3 separate regions of the Homo sapiens genome follow, and all the other regions are linked to region 1. Evidence: promoter capture Hi-C in human tissues and cell types (Jung and others, 2019). All regions are on one chromosome and are shown on one strand. Each heading gives the region's core, a stretch centred on a gene start or on the middle of the fragment in contact. The rest is flanking DNA. Distances are from core to core; before and after follow the strand shown.

Evidence for each region. The method cuts DNA at HindIII sites, captures the fragments that hold promoters and counts their contacts. A contact is called where the count stands out against the background at its distance.
Region 2: a fragment that was not itself captured here is called in contact with the fragment with the promoter of CIDEA in region 1 in 4 of the 25 tissues and cell types used here (bladder, lymphoblastoid cells, mesenchymal stem cells and 1 more).
Region 3: a contact is called between a fragment that was not itself captured here and the fragment with the promoter of CIDEA in region 1, in 6 of the 25 tissues and cell types used here (H1 embryonic stem cells, liver, lymphoblastoid cells and 3 more).

What each region holds. Positions count from the first base shown.
Region 1 is chr18:12,252,373-12,257,042 of GRCh38, reverse strand. CIDEA (cell death inducing DFFA like effector a) reads right to left here and starts at 2,682. Exons shown (of 5, transcript NM_001279.4): 1 at 2,622-2,682. The coding sequence starts at 2,659. LOC105371996 (a long non-coding RNA gene) reads right to left here and starts at 2,030. Exons shown (of 2, transcript XR_935158.3): 1 at 1,612-2,030; 2 at 1-1,464. RefSeq lists an enhancer at 2,940-3,546. The HindIII fragment of the contact is 10,266 bases long and covers 1,326-4,670 here.
Region 2 is chr18:12,013,659-12,018,328 of GRCh38, reverse strand. IMPA2 (inositol monophosphatase 2) reads right to left here. Exons shown (of 8, transcript NM_014214.3): 5 at 3,956-4,064. Among named protein-coding and RNA genes, the nearest start is that of IMPA2, 34 kb to the right of the region's middle. The HindIII fragment of the contact is 5,071 bases long and covers 1-4,670 here.
Region 3 is chr18:12,098,134-12,102,803 of GRCh38, reverse strand. It overlaps ANKRD62 (ankyrin repeat domain 62), which reads right to left. Exons shown (of 14, transcript NM_001277333.2): 6 at 3,122-3,189. It also overlaps the pseudogene RNU6-324P and the pseudogene SDHDP1. Among named protein-coding and RNA genes, the nearest start is that of ANKRD62, 6.6 kb to the right of the region's middle. RefSeq lists an enhancer at 4,274-4,443. The HindIII fragment of the contact is 3,311 bases long and covers 572-3,882 here.

The sequences.
Region 1 (4,670 bases), core at 1,433-3,932:
AGCAGGGAAGCAAGTGCTGCCTTGACGAGACTTCCTGCTGCCCGGCTCCCCTAGGGCTCTTGGACGTGACATATGCAGGTGGGAGCACACCTACCCCCCAGATAAACTCGCCCCGACAAGGACTGCCTGGTTCATGGCTCAGTTCTTCGCAAGCTACCTAAAGGCTTGACATTATCAAGTGTTCAATACATGACCATGAAGTCTTTGAACACTTTGCAGTTTCGTTAAAATAAGAATTTAAATTCAAGAAGCAGAAAGCTGAGAGATTGACTTGTAGCATACTTAATTCCTTACTAATGTCACTAAGAAGACTGGTGAAATTTGTACTGAAATAGCAGCACAAAACCTAGAGTTCCTTGTTCAAGGAAAGGAAAAATGTGCTAGATAGCTATGAAAGCAGCCATTTCACACGAAGCTTATAACATGTACCAGCTTCATAACAACTTCAGCGTTTGGCAGGAATGTTATCACTGGCAGAACACAGGAACAGAGCAGACTTTGTCTGTGATAGTCAACCTGCATGTGGACCTCCTTGATGTCTGGAGCTTTGTTGTGAGACCTCAGGCTGCTTTCCTCAGGACCAAGGCCCCTAACGATTCTAGCTGACTAACAAATGCCTGGGTTAAGGTTTCACCACTGACTACAAGTACCTGATTTTTAAAAATTTTTGTGCACATTGATTCGGTTCTTTCCTTGGTAAAATGTAGTTACTAATAAAGACAGAATTATGACATCCTGGACCTGGTTTAAATTAAGGAACCCTGAGAGGAAGCCGAAGTCCAGCAAGAGCACAATTAGCAAATATGTTAGGACCTGGCCTCTGGCTCTTTTGCCCGGACAGGGTTTTAGAGAGGGGCAGGGAAGAAAAGGTGTTTTCCCTTCAACAAGAATTACAGATTGTTTTCTTCCAGTTTAGTTTGGTAACAGGTAGATTTCACAGAATGACAGTAGTCCAGCCTGGGAGCAGGTAGATTTCACAGAATGACAGTAGTTCAGCCTGGGAGCAGGTAGATTTCACAGAATGACAGTAGTTCAGCCTGGAAGCAGGTAGATTTCAAAGAACTGCAGCAACAGCTTGTCCATAACAGGTAGAGTCATTCACTCCTGGGATGAGCCAAGCTGGAAGGAATGTGTCCTAGGAGACTCAAGGTTTCCCAATGTTTCATTTGTCAACAGCTCATAAGCAAGTCACTTCCACTTCACACGACCTCACAGAGACCCCACACAGATGCATTTTGGATTTTGGTGAGCTGTTATAATAGTCAGAGGCAGGGACAGGCTCAGCCTGAATCCTGCTCAGAGGCCAACCAGGATTGGTTAGTGCGAGTCAGCCCACACCTCCTTCCCCCATGCTCCGGAGGAACAGTGGGTGTGTTGTGAATTCACTGGAAAAGTGGTTGGAAGGACGCATTCCAAACTGCTAAGACCTCCCCTCCTGGAAGTGGGACTGTGGTGTGGATGGTTCTGGAAGAACGCAAAAGATACAGGGCCCTGACCTTTAGGCCTAAGCGTGTTAATGACCATACACGAAGCAGGTGTTTCTCAGCGTCCCCCTGCCACCGCCCCGACTTGTACTGTGGGCTTATTTTTAAAGAGAAAGATGCTTCTAACCTGCAGTGTCTACAACAGCTCCCATTTAAGAACCCGGGATTGGAAGCTCATAGATTGCGTTTCGTAGCCGGACCGCTCCCTTTCACACATGTAGTCTCTCTGCCCGCCACACGTAGCACACACAGTGGGACCCGGCGCCGCTGAACGCCTGCACCTTCAAGCCCGCAAATGGTTCTCTATCCTTTTCCAGGTACTTGATCTTCAGAGAAACACGATCTCCCTCTTAGACCTTACTTTACAGTTGCTGCCACGCAATGACTTAGGATTTTACCAAGAATTGGCTTGGGTCTGTTGGGATATGAATATTAACCCAAGCAGGAAAATAGCCAATGCTGCCTGTTCGACCACGAGCGGGTGCGAAGCGCAGGGAAGACTCCTCAGGGTCCACCCGCCCCTTGTCCCCCCTGCTCCCCAGGCAGCGTCTCCGCCCTTGGACCCGGAGGCAAGGAGGAGCGCTTCTCCCAGCACCACCAACCTGGAGGGCTCCGCCGGACGGTTGGGGCCTCCCCTCGGAGACCAGAGCCCGCGCTTCCAGGAGGGGCCAAGCCTGGGCCCCTCCCGCGCCCAGCTCCCGTTGTGATTTCCAGGACCCCCAGAAGCCCGGTCCCCTCGCATCGCGGAAGCTTTGCTCGGGGTTCCTGGGACCGGACCCTCTTCTGCGCCCGCGACTGCAGCAGCGGCCAGAGATGCATGCAGCCACTCGCCAGCTGTCACCTGGTTTGCAGACGCCCGCGCACCTCGCAAGAGCCACACCTGGTACCTGTGCCCAGCTGCAAGAGGGTGAGGAGGCGCGGGACGGGATTGGGCTCTGCCCGCGGGCGCGGCTGGACGGCTTGGGCACCAGTGGGGCGGATGGGTGTGTGCGCGGGGTCGCGGAGCGCAAGAGAATGCGGGGAGCAGGGGGCTGAAGGGAGCGGGGTACGGTACTAGAGGCGCACAGGGGAATATGAGGCCACCGAACGCAAGGCGATTGGAAGCGCACGGCAATCAGGGGGACGCGGGGCACTCGCCTGATGAGGGCTCCTGCATAGTCCCGGGCGGCCTCCATGGCGCGGATCCCCTAGCGGGCCTGGAGGTCTGTCTGCCTGCACAGCCTCTTAAAGTGCGGCGGCCCCGCCCCCGCCCGCCTGCCAGCCCCGCGAAGGCCTGACTGGCGCAGGGGAGGACGTTTTGGCACGAGCTCTCCACCGCCGAGGATCGCGACTTCGCGCTCTGGGAGCCCCCGGTCGTCCTGGCTCCCGCAGCCTGGAGCCGCGCGTCCTTCGCTGCCTTGGGCCGTACCGAGGACCTTGGAAGCCCAGATGCTCCCCGGGTCTCTTTTGGTCACTTGCCAGCCTGTTCGTTTTGCACTTCTGGGGGTCGGGGCAGTTGGGGTCATAACCAATCCTGGCAGCATCACTTTGGCCGCGGAAAGACGGGTATGTGGATTTTAAACCCAGGCCACGGGTGGGGCAGGTGAGGAGACGGATGTGAGCGCCACTTGCCTCCAGCTCTGGAGTCCCCCAGAGCCCAGCCCCAGGCTCAGCGAGCCGCTGGTTCCCTGCAGGGATGCGGAAGCTGCCGCAGACACCGGGACCTGCAGCCCTTCAGGTTCTCCGAGGCGCCTGGGCTTCCTGCCCGCTGCGCTGCTCTCAAGGCCATGTCATGAGCATTTGGGGACAGTGAGAAGGGCATGCAGAACGGGAGGGGAAAGGAGCCTTTGGACTGCATGAATTGCCTTTTAGCTGTAGTAAGGGACCCTCGCAGAGTGAGGAGGCAAAGAGTGAACCCCGCTGGGGCTGGGGGACTTCCGTCCACACCCTGCTCTCATGGTTGTTCCCATCGGAAGACGCAATTAGGGCCTCTGAGACCTCCGAGGAAGGCGGGCAGTTACAAGGGGTTCCCAGAACCCCTCACTACAGGACTGAAGAGGTGGGCTCAGTGTTGAGGGGTGGGACTCGGGCAGTAAGAGGTGTAACTTTCTGGGATGGAGGCTTGCTAGGATATCCTCTCGTGCCCAACTGCTGACTGCCGCCTGGAAACAGCGTTTCGGGAGCTGCAGCGGGACCCTCGCCGGCTCCTCCTGAGCCCACCTGGTTTGAGCAGACTGACCTGATCTCTTAAGACCTGACCCTATGCCCGCCCTCTTCCTCCGCTGGCTCTCAGAAAGGGTCACCGTGGTCAACAAGCCTTGTGACTTGCAGGACTGTTGAAGCCAAAGGCAATTGCCTTCCAGAGTCAAGGACTCCGCCTGCTGGGAACACCCAGCTCCAGGCTCACAGGGGGCAGCTTCCCCCAGAGGCACTGAGCGGACACAGCTTTAGGAGGTCATTCACTGCCCCTCCCACTCACAGCCCCAATGTGATGGATGAGAAAATGGGTCCAATCAATTCAGGTCAACTTACCTCTAACCTTTTTATTGTGAAAAAGTTCAAATATAGAGATACATAGAAAGAACAGGGCTGAGGGTACTGGCTTACATCTGTAATCCCAGTACTTTGGGAGGCCAAAACAGGAGGATGGCTTGAAGCCAGGAATTTGAGACCAGCCTGGGTAACACTGTGAGACTACTATCTCTACACAAAAATAACGATAATTAGCCAAGCATGACGGCGAGCACCTGTAGTGCTAGCTACTCAGGAGGCTGAGGAGGGAGGATCACCTGAGCCCAGGAGTTTGAGGTTGCAGTGAGCTGTGATCATGTCACTGCACTCCAATATGGGCAACAGAGTGAGACTTTCTCTCTAAAGAAAGAAAAAAATCTGTTTGTGTGTATATATCTATCTATCTATATATAAGATAGATAGATAGATAGATAGATAGATAGATAGATAGATAGATAAGAGAGAACAGTACAATGAGCACACTTACACCCAGCCCCTGGATTCAACCACTGTTAACATTTTGACATATTTCTTTGTTCTTTATATTTGAATTTGAACCCTTCCAAATTAAATCCTTTAGCTTGCATCTCTGGAGAAACAAGGACATGATCTCATACATAACCATAGTGACATTATCACTTCTAACAAAATAAAAATAAAGACCTGGGCACTGAGTGTGGACATGGGGGTGGGGTG
Region 2 (4,670 bases), core at 1,198-3,697, 240 kb after region 1:
AGAGAGAGGACATGACCCATAGAACAAGCTTGTCAACTGTTACTGAGAGCAAAGGTTATCTTTTTATTTTTTTAAGAGATGGGGTTGAGGCCGGGTGTGGTGGCTCATGCCTGTAATCCCAATACTTTGGGAGGCCCGGGCGGGTGGATCACCTGAGGTCAGGAGTTCAAGACCAGCCTGGCCAACATGACAAAACCCTGTCTCCACTAAAAATACAAAAATTAGCTGGGCATGGTGGCATGCGCCTGTAATCCCAGCTACTTGGGAGGCTTAGGAGGAAAATCACTTGAACCAGGGAGGCGGAGGTTGCAGTGAGCCGAGATCGCCCCATTGCACTCCAGCCTGGGCAACAAGAGTGAAACTCCATCTCAGAAAAAAAAAAACAGAAAAAAAAAAACCCAGTATAACTCATTATCGACTCTATATTTTAAAAATATGGTCAGGTGCAGTGGCTCACAACTGTAACCCCAGCACTTTCGGAGGCCGAGGCAAAAGGCTCACTTGAGGTCAGCAGTTTGAGACCAGCCTGGCCAACATGGTGAAACCCCGTCTCTACTAAAAAATACAAAAAAATTAGCCAGATGTGGTGGCGCATGCCTGTAGTCCCAGCTACTCAGGAGGATGAGGCAGGAGAATTGCTTGAACCTAGGATGTGGAGGCTGCAGTGAGCCAAGACTGCACCACCGCACTCCAGCCTGGGTGACAGAGTGAGATCCTGTTTCAAAAAACAAAACAAAACAAATAAAAAATACGTACTTCCTAGCACAGTCCAGTGAAAAGGCAACAAAGACTGACCCAGGAACAGGAAGTCCCCCCAGAACGCAGACTATGACCTTAGGAGGCCACTTTCCATAAAAACGAGACAATTGGAAATTTGAACACTGATGGGATTATTTGCTGATTTTAGGGATGCATTTTGGGTAGAGAGTGATATTGATGATGTGATTGTATTTGTAAGAGAGCAGTCTGTTTTTGGAGACACGCTGAAGTACTGACTAGGAAGTGACCTGATGCCTGGGATTGGCTCCAGGCAGCTGGGGGTGGCGGGAGCTGGTGGACACACACGAAGCAGGCGTGCTGCCATGTGAGGGGTCATGGGGCATCATTTTGCTTTTTCTGTGTACTTTGTGTATGTCTGAAATTTGCATGGTAGAATTTGAAGAAGCAGCTAATAAAATTCTTGCCTTCTTCTAATCCTTTACCTCTATCCAGTGCTGTTTTTTAACTTGTGAGTTGAAGATATTCCAGCAAGGCATAATAGAAATAAGAAAGGGGAAGCCAAGGGAAGCAGAAAGAGAGAGGGAGAAAGAGAGAGAGATTAGTGGTGCTTGTTTTAATGACTGTGTCCTCCAGAAACAAGTCCTAATTTTAACAACGGGGCATGACTTGATTGGTTTTGTGCAAAGATTCAAGTTTCTTCTTTGATAATGGTTCTCATTTTAGGATACTGTGCCCCAGGCACTATGCTGGGTGCTTTATATGCGTAACTTATTTAATCCTCTCGGTTATTTTTATTATCATCAGCATCCCCGTTTTCAATATGAGGACTGAGATTCAGAGAGGTTAAGGAACTTGCTCGAGTTCTAGTCACCTTAGAAAGTGGCAGAATCGGCCAGGTGTGGTGGCTCACACCTGTAAGCCCAACACTCTGGGAGGCCGAGGCGGGTGGATCACTTGAGGTCAGGAGTTTGAGACCAGCCTGGCCAACATGGTGAAACCCCGTCTCTACTAAAAATACAAAATTAGTCAGGTGTGGTGGTGCGCACCTGTAATCCCAGCTGCTTGGGAGGCAGAAGAATCACTTGAACCCAGGAGGTGGAGGTTGCAGTGAGCCAAGATTGTGCCACTGCACTCCAGCCTGGGTGACAGAGCAAGACTCCATCTCAGAAAAAAAAAAAAAAAAGCGGCAGAATCAGGATCTGAAATTGGGTCTGCATGGTGCCAAGAGACCGTGCTGCTGAAGAGCATGCACTGTCACCTCCTGAAGTCCATCTACCCATAGGAAAGAAAACAACCATGGTAGAAAACACGTGGAACCGCCTGTCCTGAATGGGCCAGTTTAGGTTTTCACTGATTCTTTTTGGCCTTTCTCCCATATGGAGGAATTTGGTGATATTTTATAGCATTGTGAGACAGGTACTGTAGGGAACAGAAGAATACCAGACAAATGAGAGAAGCCTCAGACTAGCAGCAGCTATCTGCTATGCATTTTATCCATCAGAATTTTTCTAAAGTCACAAATGAGTTTCAGAACATGAGCACTTCATGTTTCCTTCATTCTACGAAATTACCAGGCCTACTGGGGGCCACATAAAGGGGCCCTGGACAAAGCCCTTGCCCTAGTGGAGTTGGTGCTTGAGCTAGCAGCCTGCAGGCTGGGAGGACGCAGAGTTGCAGCCTGACTGAGCTACACGGGCGGGCAGCCAGGATGCCAAGAGCATGTTAATAGAGTTCAGTGTTATAATCCAGTGAAATATAGAGCAAAGTTCACCCGAGCATGCTTAGTAGCATGCTTCCTCACCACCAGTTACACAATGAGGCTGGAGTGGGCACCTCCTGGCACGCACAGCTGTAATTAAAGCTACTTTTTTCACTGCCAAACAAAACACTTCTGGAGAGGGAAGGTGAGGCAGGGCCAGAGGCCATTCCAAGGCCTCTCTGGGATCAGAAGCTCTAACTGGTGAGTCCAACTGCTGGTTGCCCCTCAGAGGCCCCCATGACTTCTCCCTTCCCCTGCTCTGGGCTCTCCTGCAGCCACCTCCTCTCCTTTGCACAATCTTGCCCTTCGTGTCCCTCACACAGTGGCGGGCCCTCTCCTGACACCTCATCCATCCTGGCCCGCCACTTTCCTGGCCGCACGGGCTCACAGCAGCAGAGATGGGCCATGGCCATAGCTCCTCTCGCTGCCTCGAAGGCCATCTGGGCACACAGGCATCAGCCAGGGAGGAAAGAAGTAGGAATAAATAGAGACAATGAAGAAAGGTTGCCAGGAAAGGAATTTTTAAGAGAGGCTGGAAGTGGGTCAAGAGGGGAGGCGGCAGGGAGGCTGATGGGAGAGCAGAAGAAAGAGTGTAACTGGCAGGGAATGAGATGGGGGGCCCTGCATGATGTCCACGCCAGAGACACACAAGGCAGAAACAAGCAGCAGTGCACTTCCGCCTTTTCAAACCCAGACATGCAGGTATTATGGAGCTTGTAAAATCTCCCATGCAGCTGCTGCTAGTCTGAGGCTTCTCTCATTTGTCTGGCATTCTTCTGTTCCCTACAGTACCTGTCTCACAATGCAGTTAAAATATCACCAGATTCATCCATGTGGGAGAAAGGCCGAAAAGAATCAGTGAAAACCTAAACTGGCCCATTCAGGACAGGCGGTTCCAGGCAGTATGCAGGGAATGGGAACCCCTCTCTCAGAGCCACTGGATGACCCTGAGATTCTGGGCTAAGGAAATCACGGCAGGCCATAACTGCAGAGGGGCTAAGGTGCCTCTTCACATGACTCATTCCCCAGGATGGCTCTTCTCACAGAAGCTGAAGCCAGTTACTGTTGTGCACACTCAGGGGCCACAGACTGCACCTGGGCAGCAGTGCCTGGGCAAAATCGGGACCACCGAGGTGTGCCGGGTGCTCTGAGGGGAACAAGCACCTGGCCTCGGGCTGCTCACCCAATCCCACTACAACCAAATCGTGACTGCGACTGGAGTACTTTTAGCCTGAAAGATGAGGGATGTGAGCGCAAAGCAGAATGAGGTTATTTAAAGCTCCTGGCCACGTGAACAAAAACACTAACATACAGAACTGGCTCCATTTCCAGTTCATCAGGGACACGATGTCCCTAAAAAGAGATGACACCATCAGCAAGGGACCTCCACCACCGTCCCACATCATGGTGGCTTTGGCATTCTCCTTTCACACTTTTATTTCAGAAGTAAACTGAGACGAGCGTTGTGAAGCCCACCTGTCTCCCCGGAGACCCGGAGCCGCTGGCCATTGCAGAAGGCGCCCCGACCCCGCCGGCCCGTGTACAGCCGCTCCTCTGTGCAGTGGTAAATCACTCCGAATTCAAGCTGTGGGCGGCAGAGGCAGGACAGAAAACAAAGATGGTTCACTCGTTTGATGTGGGAAAAAACATTGTTATTCAAAGATGAAGGCTGCGCTAGGCGTTAGGATAACACATTACACTGTGACAGAAATTACCTTTCCAAAAGGAACTGAGAAAAAGCAGTGCCTGCATTTAAAATGAGACCTGGACATAAAAGCAAGCTTGCTTTTGCTAAATAAGTACAATTTTAAAATATATTCAGACAAACAAAACTTTAAAAATTAACATCATAATCAAGTATTAGTAACCAGAAGTTATTGAAAAAGCTTAATTTTTTAGAAAGGCCCCTTTTGTTGCTGAAAAAAAGAATGTTACTTGTGACTCTAACCAAACCCCACAAGAAATCCTCAAAATTGCTGATGTGTGAAGAATGGAGAATGCATCTGTAAAGCCAGCGGAATCTCAGAAGCCCAAGGACAGCCCCAGCGAGGAAGAGGCACCGCCGCAGACTGGGGACTGATCCGTGAGCAGGCAGTGCGCTGAACAGTGGCCCGACTGCCCCACATCAGGGAACAAAGCATCAGACCACAGCCTCCCAGGATGAAGCAGCAAAAGGAAGAGGTCAGCGTGG
Region 3 (4,670 bases), core at 978-3,477, 150 kb after region 1:
ACTTCCTAATATTACCTTTATAATAACACACTAAACCTGCTTCTTATTATGAGTAACTTCCAATATGACTGTTACTGCTTATACCTTCATCCATATACACCCCGTTCATTATATCTGAAATGTCTTCCTCTACTATTCTGACAAATTTCATTTTTCAACAGCTGTGTAAACTCTTCTCTGATTCTGGCTCTTTCCCCAGACAAACAGTTTTATATAATACAGGTTTCATAAAACATGCAGTTAAGGTTTCAAAAGCGAGTTTATGTTTTAACCGACTATAACTAAAATACAAAGTGGGGGTTGGTGGATGACCTTGAGTTTTCAGGAATGAGATGGCGGTTCTCTGGAGACTGAGTACCCTTCGCGGTGCCCAAGGAGGCTGAGCTCTGTTGCTGCGAACCCCAGTGGTCACACCTGCTCCTATCTCAGCATTACTTCAGAACCGACCTACCCCCGAATGGTGTGGAGTGAGTACATTGGCTTGTCACCAAGCCACCATTCTGGTTCCCAGGTTGCGTCTCTCCACTGGACTAGTGAGAGGGTCGTCAGTGTTTTGCTCCTGGGCCTGCTTCCAGCTGCTTATTTGAATCCTTGGCTCTGTGACGGACTCTACTCCTTGCTGCAACCCTCACTCTTCATAGTTACTCGGGCCTTGGACAAGTTGTTACTGACTATGTTCATGGGGATGCCTTGCAGAAAGCTCCCAAGGCAGAGCTTCTGGCACTTTCAGCTTTAACCTTTGCTGGGCTTTGCTATTTCAACTACCATGATGTGGGCATCTGCAAAGCTGTTGCCACGCTGTGGAAGCTCTGACCTTTCTGACTTAATACTTTGAAGAACTGATGTATGCCTCTTTGCCTCTGCTTTGTCATGCCATTCAACTCACAATAAGGAAGAAATAACAGGGTAAGTCCATTGGTGGACAGCCTTCTTCTCTTAATCACAAGATTGTTTTCCAAATTTAATATTTGAGGAAAAGGTTTGAGAGGAATTACGACTAAGAAATTGTGAGACTGAGTTTTGTATTGCGGTGAGTTAATGGGGTTGCCTCCCAGCTTCTCATAAGAGTCACAGTATAACTAAACATGATACGAGCTTTTGCCTTTTATCAATCTCTTAAAGAGAATCCAGCTTTATTACTATTAATATATGATCAAATTTCTGTTTTTGCCCTGGGAATGATGGACAAAGGGAAATACTGTTAATTCATGAATAAAAACATCGCAGAAAATTAGAGAGTGTTCAGTTTTTGAAAACTTCCCTCTCTATTCAGTAGATACCACCTACTGATGGTTACATATACTGGGGAAATTTTAAAATTAGGAAATGCTGATATCTCACATTATGAATTTCTAAATCTTAGGAAGAAAAGCTTGGAGTGCTTCTGAATATAGAGAAGTTCCATTTAAGGGCAAGGTTCCCCTTGTAGACATATCAAAATATTACAAATTCTAAACTGAGACTCAAGTCTCAAATGTGTTTTACTTGTTCTGAAACAATCTGTCCATGAATATGAAACTATAAGTAATACATTGCTATTTTCCCACTATGGGAATCTCTAATGTGAAAATGTATTCTATGAATTGTTTTTAAATAAAATGTTGTATAATTAAAAAAAAGAAAAGTACACACATTCCAAAATGAACCTAATGGCTTGCAAAAAAAAAGTGTTTTTCAGTTAAGAATAGCAAATCATGATCCTGAGAGGATAAATGTCAAAGCTTATGGGAGAGTGCTGTGGCATATTTTTAATGCAACACATCATACTTAATTATACCATTATCCTACATGTATTTTTAAGTTGTGGGGCTGTGTGGCACAGCATGTGTCCTACTTCAAAGAGGCAGCCCCCGGTCTGTTCTGGTAATGGTTGCTGTACTTTTACTATAATGTGCTGAGCCTAGAGTTGGGCTATTCGAATATTATTATAATAATATTTTAGCTAATGGTAACAGAGTGTCTTCTTCTAACAAAATTGATATTATCATGACAATTAACTAGCAGATAGAACAAATCTCACCCTAACGAAGTAAATATATCTCATTTTATTTCCACTTGGGGGGAATTAAGTCAATACTAGTGAGACATTCTTGGTATGAGAATATGTAACACGGCCTGTGCTTCTCAATAAGGAATTTATTTTCTGACTTCTCTACACAGTAGGTATCTTTAAAAAATAACATCCTATTGGTATTGGTACAGTTCTTATTGATGTTTGTTCATGGTACCAGAAAGGTCTCATTGAAATTCTTATTTTAAAGACAGTTACTTTTTAAGTGACACAAATCACCATGTCAGAGTTAATCTCTGAACAACACAGGTTTGAACTGCAAGGGCCCGCTCATCTGCAGACTTTCTTCTGCCTCTGCCACCTGAGATGGCAAGATCAATCTCCCTCTACCTCCTACTCCTCCTCAGCCTAGCCAACTTGAAGACTCTGAGGATGAAGAGCTTTATGATGATCCACTTTCCACTGAATAAAAATATATTCTTTCTTCATTATGAATTTCTTTATAAGTTTCTTCTTCTCTAGTTTACTTTATTGTAGTAACAATACAGTATATAATACATATAACTAATATGTCTTAATTAACTGTATAATCAATAAGGTTTCTAGTCAACAATAAGTCATGAGTAGTTAAGTTTTAGGGGGGAGTCCAGAGTTATATACAGATTTCAAACTGAATGGGGGACTGGTACCCCTAAATCCCACACTACTCAAGGCTCAGCTGTAATATGTATTTACTAAATGCAAAGCATTTGTTTTATAAATTAAAATATCCAATGTTATAACAAATCCAATTCATCATAAGGTGACTATAAAGAAAACATACCACATACTAACTTAATCTTTTTTCTTATTTACACAAAAATATCATCTAGAATTTCAGAAACTACGATAATGAGTTTTTTTCAGATAATACTGCTTGAGATTATAACTTGCCTACAAGTAACTTTTTAAATAATTCTGAAATCTAGATTACTAAGAAAGTAATTAAAAAATATACATTCAATTTACAGTGGTTTTTTTAAACTGCTGTTTTGTGATCAAAACTTCCTTCCTCTTACTTTTTTATCTATGACAGGACCATCGAGAGGAATTCACTATCAGAAGTCATACCTGAATTGCTATTTTGAAGACTTTTACATCTCTTGTTTGCTTTATATTCAGAAATCATTCCACGAATGCTATGTATCAAAATGCAGTAAATACAATTACTATTTTAATACTGATATGAAAAACTTTACCAAATACATTAAATTCTTAAGAGTATATCAAACAATATCAGAACTTTAATTATACACTTTTAGTTTGTAAGCTCTACAAAACTCTTATTAAGCTTCTAATTAAAGAAGAAAAAAGTATGAAGTGAGGACAGTATAACTCAGTAAATTAACTCATGTGAAGTTGACATAATGGAAAATGATCTGACTCATAATAGGACCAATGGGTATTTGTTCTTGAACAAGTCTCTTCTCTTAGGCTCAATGTCTTCTTCTAAAGAATGAAGGTTTTACTACCTTATTCACTAGGTTATTATAAATGTTTAATGAAACCACATTTTAAGGTGCTCAGAGAAATAGTAAAGCAATGGAATAATTTGTTCTTGAACTTTTTTGCTGAAATTATTTTGGAATCCCAAATGAAACCCAATGTGTATTTTCACATATGTTCTAATATTAAAATGTTATGATCTTTTGAAAATGTTGTTAAGTCCTAATTTTGCTTGTTACTTGTTCTATTATTTGTAGCTTATGATTCAGGACATCTCAACTATTTCACAGTTTGTAACTAAATTGATAAATAGATTGTCTCATTAAAATAGATAACATGATTATCCATTGTTACTTATGTCATCAATCACACCAAAGGCAGAAAGCTAACAGATGTCAAGACCTGGCTTGGACTACTACTATTTTTCCTCTATAGACTCTAACTCTGAACTGGCAGATCTTTGTTAGAATGATGCTTCCTCTCCATGGTCATCCCCAACTGACATGGAAGACAAAAACCCTCATATTTTTGAAGGGTCATGAAGGAGATGCAAGTGGTTATTTTTTCATTTCTGAGATACATACTAACAATATATTTGCACACAACACACCACGAGTTTACTCAGCGCCATTCTCATTTCATAGATACCTTACTCCAATGTTTTTGTAATGAAAATGTGTAATTTCATTATTGGCTAGCACCTGTTTTGCTTTGACTCACACTGTTTTCCGGGAACTTGTCAGCAAACTAGTCAAATGGCCTTCTTGTAACTGTGTAAAATATGGACTGCTTCACAGATTAGTGTGACATGCTTATGCAGGGGCCATGCTAATTTTCTCTGTATTGGTCCAACTTTAGCATATGTGCCGCGAAGCAAGCACAAAGCTCTACTTTTATAAATGGATGCTGATCAGTCATGGATGAAGCTTGGCTCTGTTCAGTCCAACTCACCTACTTGAGACAGATAATTCTGACTAATGGCTTCCTATGAGGTAATATTTGAAGATATTTTAAAAACTTGAGGTGGAGAAGCAAGTGGGCTGGGAGATTTTTATTATTATGGAAAACAGATCACTCGAGGGGCCAACCACAAGTTGGAGCCCACTGCGGACAACATGGGACCCTCCTCTATCTAAGAAAAGCTGCTACATAAGATATAAAGGGGCTTGGGGTA